Linked DNA regions of Homo sapiens: region 2 is linked to region 1. The links are contacts of gene promoters, found by promoter capture Hi-C in blood cells and fetal thymus (Javierre and others, 2016). All regions are on one chromosome and are shown on one strand. The core of a region is centred on a gene start or on the middle of the fragment in contact, and the rest is flanking DNA. Distances in the headings are between cores, read along the strand shown. Region 1 holds the start of ALOX15 (arachidonate 15-lipoxygenase). Region 2 overlaps SPNS3 (SPNS lysolipid transporter 3, sphingosine-1-phosphate (putative)).

Region 1 (3,758 bases), core at 469-2,968:
AAAAACAAGCAAACCAGAAAATATGCATCACAGACATATTTTCGTGGACTTCATTTGTGTTACCAGGCTGATTGTAATCCATGCCATGAAGTTTATGTTAGTATTCCCCTTTTGTTTACATTGCCTGATAATTTGTTTCCCTTTGTCTCCCCCAAGGGAAGCATTCATTTATAATGAATTTTTCAGCTCAGTGTGTTTCAGCAAACACTTATTGACACCCACAAACCCTGACACTGTGCCGTCTCCAGGGGAAACAAAAGTGAGAGTCCTGCTGGGTGTGTAGTCCCTGCCTAGGACGGGCTCACATTAGTGGGGGATACACACATACAAATGCTCACACTGCAGTATTAACTGTGCAACAGTAGAAGTGTGCGCAAGGAGAAAAGTGTTAGAAAGGAAAGCTGGGCCGGGCGCCGTGGCTCACACCTGTAATTCCAGCACTTTGGGAGACTGAGGTGGGTGGATCACAAGGTCAGGAGTTCAAGACCAGCGTGGCCAACATGGAGAAACCCCGTCTCTACTAAAAATACAAAAATTATCCAGGCATGGTGGCAGGCGCCTGTAATCCCAGCTACTCGGAAGGCTGAGGCAGAGAATTGCTTGAGCCCGGGAGGCAGAGGTTGCCGTGAGCCGAGATCGTGCCATTGCACTCCACCCTGCATTCCAGGGTGACAGAGTGAGACTCTATATCTCAAAAAAAAAAAAAAAAGGAAAGCTAATTCACTCTGGTGGGGTGGTGGGGGGTGAAAGTACCGGGTAAGACTTTCCTGAGAAACCGGAGGTGAACTAGGGTTTAGAAGCATGAATAGATGAATAGACTAATCCAGGAGCAAGTTCTTTTGAGAGAACAGCAGGTGGGGTTCTGGGGAACACATGGCTCCAGCCCAAAAAGAAACTGGAGACGAATTAGGGTTTAGAAGCATGACCAGACTAACCCAGAAGTGAGTTCTTTGAGAGAACAGCAGGGGCGGCGGGGGGAGGGGGGGTTCCGGGGAACACATGGCTCCAGCACAGGAGATGCCAGGGTGCAGTGGGATGAGAGGTGAGGAGAGCAGGTCAGGTTAGCAAGGGCATTGAATGCCAGAAACATTTGGACTTTTATTCTGCAGGCAACAGGGAGGCAGCGGCTTTTATGCTCAAAAGGAATGAGTCCCAGTGGCTGGCACAGAGAAGGCAAGTGTGCAAAGCTGGTCGAATGAATTCCGTGGCCTGAATGTACCTTCCTCAAATGCCACTGCAAACTGGGTCTCCTCGCCCACTTCACCCTCTCCTGCAATCCAACTTGTGAGGCTTGTGTGTGCGCGCGCGTGTCCTTGCGTGTGTGTGTGTGTGCACGCGTGCGTTTAGATGGAGGTTGGCTTCCCAGCCACCCAGGCTTGGCCCAAAGTCCGTGGTACACACGTGCATAACTCCTACCCCCACCTCGCCTGCCTGCTGTACCAGGCGTTGATTCCCTCTTCCTGCGTGTTTTCGGTCCAAATCCTTTTCTTTTTCTCCCTCCCGTCAAGATAGTGGTTTCCACTCCCTGCTCTCGCCAGGACACCGCCTTTTGGACTGGGGCTGAATTCTGCCCCTTGAAGCTCTGCTCCTTGGAGCTGGGGGCCCCAGCGGTAGGCGGAGTTGATTGGAGACCTGCCACCCACATTCCGACCCCAAGCGACCTCCGAGAGGGCGGGGTCTCAGGCTGGGTTATTTAGCTCGTCCACCCTTCTCCACCAGAAGGAGCGAAACATCTTTGAGCAAGATGGGTCTCTACCGCATCCGCGTGTCCACTGGGGCCTCGCTCTATGCCGGTTCCAACAACCAGGTGCAGCTGTGGCTGGTCGGCCAGCACGGGGAGGCGGCGCTCGGGAAGCGACTGTGGCCCGCACGGGGCAAGGTGAGCTCCCCAGAGCCGGGCGGGGTGGGCTGCGCCCCTGGCTCCGAGTCAGTCAAATACCGGGGAGGACATGCGCCCCCGTTGGCCTCTGGCCGATTCTCTTTGCCAAGGGCCCGCGCATTGGGCTCAAAGCGCGCGGAGGCCACGGGGGTGGGGGGCTTTAGGGCAGTCGGTGGCACACAGTAAGCGCTCAATAAATGTTGCCGCTACCCGATCTCCTTGGAATTGAGGGCATGCTCCTGTGCGCCCCTCATTGCACAAAGCTCCCTTGTCTGGAAACTCAGCAGTCACTGGAGCCGCCGTCGGTCCTCTCGCTTTCTCTATTTTAAAAACCGTTTCAACCGCTAGCGCTGTTGGATCTCTACCTTTCAGGCTTTATCACCTGGGGTGGAGTGGGTGGTGAGAGGGAAGGGATGGGGAGTCAAGACAGGAGAACGCTCTCGATTTCCCGACCCACCTCCCGTCATATCTCATGTCACATCTACCGGGTGTTCTACCCGGTCCTGTTAACTTTTTTTCTTCCGCGAAAGCCCAAATTCCCATCACTGCTCTAGCTCTCTCCCAGATCCCCAAATCCGGATGTCTGTCTCAGGGAACGTCAAAGCAACATGCCCGGATGAGGTCCTCCCCTCTCCCCACCTCCCAGCCCTCTCCTCCTGCCTCCCCCGGTGTCACCCGCGCCTCCTTCCTCTCTTCACCTCCCTCTAAACAAGAATCCGGCGCAGTCAGTTCTAGACCCTGAGCATCTCCCGCGTCCCTGCCCAATATCCGTCCCGCCCCCGACCGCCCGCGTCCTCTTGAACCTGCGGAGCCCTGCTCCCCGCACTCCACGCCCTTGCTCCGAGCTTCCGAGAAAGCGGGGCAAAGGGAGCCAGGAAGAGAGAAAATGCGCACGGAGCAGGTGGCCCCGCGACTCCATGGTGAGGGGACGGGGCACGGAAGGTGGAAAGGCGCGCTCCCTCCTCCCTTTTTTCCTCCCTATGGTGGGCAGTTGGTGACACACAGTAAAGGCTCAATAAATGTTCCCGCTACTCGATCTCCTTGGAATTAAGGGGATGCTCCTGAGCGCCCCTCATTCCACACAGCTCTGGTGCCTGGAAACTGCGGTCGCCGGAGCGGTCGTCGGTCCTCCCGGTTTCTCTATTTTAAAAGCCATTTCAAACCTCCAGCGGCCTCGCCACCTCTGCTGCAGACCTTCCAAGCCCTTCTGAAGCCGGAATGATTTCTCCCTAATTCACTCCCCCTGCTTAACACATTCGAACGGCTCCCGCTTGTTCTCGGGACCAAATCCAAAGCCCCTGGCGCCACCTTCGAGAGCCTCCGGACCTGCTGACCCCCCACACCTGGGCTCTGAGCTCCAGCTCCAAGATGCTGCTCGCCCTCCCTTCCCCGCCGCTCTCTTTCTGCGCGCCTTTCCCCTGCCTTCCCTTTCTGTCACTCTCCCTGGCTGAGCCCTCTCCGCCTCCAGGTCTCCGGGAAGGTTGTCCCCAGGCCGGTGGGGCCCCTGCAGGTCCTCAGCCTCGGGCGGGGTGGGGTGGGGGGTCGCACAGCGGGAATTGCCACCAGCGCGTCCGGGCTCCACAGCGCGCTCGTCCAGGGCGCGGCAGCGCTCAGCCCAGCGCTTGGCACAGTCAGTGACCACAGGGAGGAGAAAGTGAAGGCAGGAGCGCACCTTCCCACCTGCCGTCCCCGTCCCCTCAGAACCGAGTCCTGGGGCCACCTGCTCGGCGCGGTCCCTCTCTCTCTGGCTCAGTCCCCGCACCCCGATACGTCTCCTCCTCTCAGAGGCTCCGAGGAAGGGCGTGGGCGCTGGAGGGAGCAGGGCTCAGCCGGGTGCCCCTCCCGCCAGGCCCCACCGGGGCTGAGCCTCTTCTGTCGC
Region 2 (3,758 bases), core at 420-2,919, 190 kb after region 1:
TGGCGTCATCTTCCCAGAAGCAGTAGCCCTTTCCCATGTTGGGGGACAGGCAGGGCTGGGGCTTTGGGGAGCCAGGGACACGGCTGCACACAGGGACCCTCTGGCTCTGGTCCTGCCCTTTGGGCTCCCTGTCTGTGGACAGGCCCCATAAACCTTGGTGCCTCATGGGACCCAAACAGGTGCTGAGCCCAAGTGGGAACGTGAATTCTGGTGTGAGGATAGAGTGGTAGGGGAAGGCTTTTGGAGGAAGCGGACTTTGAGTTGAGTCTTGCAGAAGGAGGATTTCAGGATGCACAAAAGAGGAACTGGTGTTCTTGGTGGAAGAAATGGACGCGTGCAAAGTCTGGGAAGTGTGTGTGCCCACACGGCTGGCACAGCCAGAGTGTGAGGCCCATGAAGGGGTGTGATGGGATGTGGATTTGGAACACTTGATATTACCATGATTATTGCCCTTAAAGCAGCGTCCACATTGGCCATAACCAATCTGGGCCTTGCTTCCCTCCTCTGTAACCTGGGGAGAATTGCTCTATTTCTTCTTGGGCCCACAATATGCCCTGGCAATAAATGAGTCCTATTTTCTCAAATTAACACATTAACCCAATGCTCAGAGGACACCTTTTACAGTCAGAAAAGCTCAGGCTCAAATCCCAGTTCTGCCCCTTCTTCACTGTGGAACTCCTGGTAAGCTTCTCTCTCTGTTTTTTTCCCCCAAGATGGAGTCTTGCTCCATTGCCCAGGCTGGAGTGCAGTGGCGCAATCTCAGCTCACTGCAACCTCCACCTCCCGCGTTCAAGCGATTCTCCTGCCTCAGCCTCCCAAGCAGCTGGGATTATAGGTGCCTGCCACCATGCCCAGCTAATTTTTTGTATTTTTAGTAGAGACAGGGTTTCACCATATTGGCCAGGCCGGCCTTGACCTCCCAAAGTGCTAGGATTACAGACATGAGCCACCGCGTCCAGCCAAGCTTCTCTTTACTGATCTGTAAAATGGGGATAACAAGCTCTACTCAGAAGGAGTGATCAACATAATTGTACATAAAGGCCGGGCGCAGCATGAGCCTGTGGAAACAGGAGTTCCTCGCCCCCCAACCCTGTCCCCACCTCCATAGAGGCTCTCACTTACATAGGAGGCCAGCAGGGTGGTCGGGGCCAGGACGAGAGCCAGGTAGAGGCAGGGGGCTGTGGCAAGCAGGCTGGAGGCGCAGATGAGGGGCTCAGCTCCTGGAATGACTTTCTTGTACCTCCTCGCAGCTTCTGCCCCCAAGATGACCCCAATGACGCCGGTCATGATGGTCAGTGCCCCAAAAATCAGGCTGATGGGGAAGAGCACAGAAGGGTTGGTCAGCTGGGTGAGCTTAGCATAGGGACTCTTATCCTGCTCCCAGCCCCAGGTCTAGCCCCTCGGCTCAAGTGCATGATCTGGTGTCTACAGGGAATATGGCTGTGGGCCCCTGACCTGACCCAGAACCTTACCCACCCTCCTCACTGATACTCCCAGGGACCAATGTCCCACTGCTCTCCCCTACCCCCTTTCCTGCCTCATCTCCTGTCTCATCCTGGGGATCCCACTGGCCATGTGGGTGATCACCCTGCACCCCAGGTCCCAGCCTGCCTCATCTCCATTGACCCTTACCCTTTCACCCCCCAAAACTGCCCCACTCAAAATCTGAATTCCAGGGTCCCACCCTGGCCCCAACCTTCTCTCTTTCCAGCTCCCAGTACTAAGAGGAATGGAGGGAAGCAAACATGTATTTACTGAGCCCCTGTGATACACCTGGCCCTTGTCTGGGCTCTCTACACGCCCTCCCTCCTTGAATCCCATCCTTCCACTCCCCGTCTTTGAACCCCTCTCAGGCAGCCCCTACCTGACTTCCGTCCCTTTCCCACCCACTTTTAGAGCCACTTCTACTCTGCTTGGCTTCCCCTTGTACATCCTTCCTGTGGAGACCTGTCCCTCCAAAATAACCTCCACAAAGGCTCCCCAGGAGTGCATTTTGTGGCAGGAGATCTGTGGTGGGAGGAGTTCCAGATCAGAAAGATTTTGTCTCTACAAAAAATTTTTAAATCATCCAGCCTTGGTGGCGTGCACCTGTAGTCCCAGCTACTCAGGAGGCTGAGGCGGGAGGATCGCTTGAGCTCAGAAGTTCGAGGCCACAGTGAGCTATGATCATACCACTGCACTCCAGCTTGGGCAACAATTCCCAGATGGATAGGTGAGCAAGGTGAGGCTGAGAAAAGTCAAGGCCAAGATTACCCAGCTGGTAAATTACAGACCAGGATTTGAATATACTTCTTCACCCTCCTGGTCCATTGTGCAACCTCCAGCCCCCTTTTAAAGGAGCTCAAAGGGGACCAGGCAAGGTGGCTTAAGCTTGTAATCCCAGCACTTTGGGAGGCCGAGGTGGGTGGATCACTTGAGGTCAGGAATTCAAGACCAGCCTGGCCGATACAGCAAAACCCCGTCTCTACTAAAAAAAAAAAAAAATACAAAAATTAGCTGGGAACAGTGGTGGGCACCTGTAATCCCAGCCCACTCAGGAGGTTGAGGCAGGAGAATCACTTGAATCCGGGAGGTGGAGGTTGCAGTGAGCTGAGATCACACCACTGCACTCCAGCCTGGGCAAGAGAGCAAGACTCCGTCTCAAAAACAAAACAAAACAAAACAAATAAAGGAGCTCAAAGGGAACGCTGAGACTGTGCCCACTGTGAACTCTTGAAAACACCAGTCCAACCAGGATCTTTCCAACCTCTCAATAGCTCCCTGTCGTCCTCTGAGCAAGCTCCTGACCAGCACTGATGACTCTGCGGGACTGGTCCACGCTGACCGATGTAGCTTGCCCTCTCTTCTCCCACCCTCACTTTGCACAAATGACTGAGAATTCTCTAAATTCTCTACCAAAAGTACAAAAATTAGCTGGGCGTGGTGGTGTGCGCCTGTAGTCCCAGCTACTTGGGAGGCTGAGGCAGGAGAATCGCTTGAACCCGGGAGGCCGAGGTTGCAGTGAGCCGAGATCGTGCTACTGCACTCCAGCCTAGCAACACAGCAAGACTCTGTCTCAAATGGAAAAAAAAAAAAAACAAAGAAGAAGAAGAAGAAGTGCTTTCTAAACCTTCCCAGGCTTCCAAGCTGTGCGAGGTCTGGCTCAGCCCAGTCAAATGACCCAAATCCCGGATGTATGCTAGCTGCCTCTGAGTCCTGGTCTGGGCTGACCTTGGCAGGTTCTCGAGATATTCATGAGACTTAGGATTGATTATTTAGACAGGCTGCCTGAAAATGCACCCCCGCCAGCCCCTAAGCAGGAGGGGCAGCCAGAGGACATGCCCCAGCTACCAAGCCCTTCATGTTCCCTCCATCCACACAGGGCCCTCCCAGCATCACAGACTCTTACAGCCAAGAGAGCCCTTAAGGATCTGTAAGTTCGGCCGGGCACGGTGGCTCACGCCTGTAATTCCAGCACTTCGGGAGGCTGAGGCGGGCCAGTCATTCGAGGTCAGGAGTCCGAGACCAGCCTGCCCAACATGGTGAAACCCCATCTCTACTAAAAATACAAAAAAAAAAAAAAAAATAGCTGGGCATGGTAGCACATGCCTGTAATCTTAGCTACTCGGGAGGCTGAGGTAGGAGAATCACTTGAACCTGGGAGGTGGAAACTGCAGTCAGCCAAGATTGTGCCACTGCACTCCAGCCTGGGCAACGAGAGTGAAACTCTGTCTCAAAAAAAAATAAATAAAATAAAATAAAATAAAAATAGCCAGGCA

Evidence for each region. Contacts are between HindIII fragments. The CHiCAGO score rates a contact against its expected background, and 5 or more counts as called.
Region 2: a fragment that was not itself captured here is called in contact with the fragment with the promoter of ALOX15 in region 1 in 1 of 17 cell types (naive CD8 T cells); the score reaches 6.9 in naive CD8 T cells.

Annotation. Positions count from the first base shown.
Region 1 is chr17:4,639,638-4,643,395 of GRCh38, reverse strand. ALOX15 (arachidonate 15-lipoxygenase) reads left to right here and starts at 1,718. Exons shown (of 14, transcript NM_001140.5): 1 at 1,718-1,879. The coding sequence starts at 1,745. The HindIII fragment of the contact is 20,783 bases long and covers 1-3,758 here.
Region 2 is chr17:4,450,570-4,454,327 of GRCh38, reverse strand. SPNS3 (SPNS lysolipid transporter 3, sphingosine-1-phosphate (putative)) reads right to left here. Exons shown (of 12, transcript NM_182538.5): 8 at 1,123-1,312. Among named protein-coding and RNA genes, the nearest start is that of SPNS3, 19 kb to the right of the region's middle. The HindIII fragment of the contact is 1,406 bases long and covers 967-2,372 here.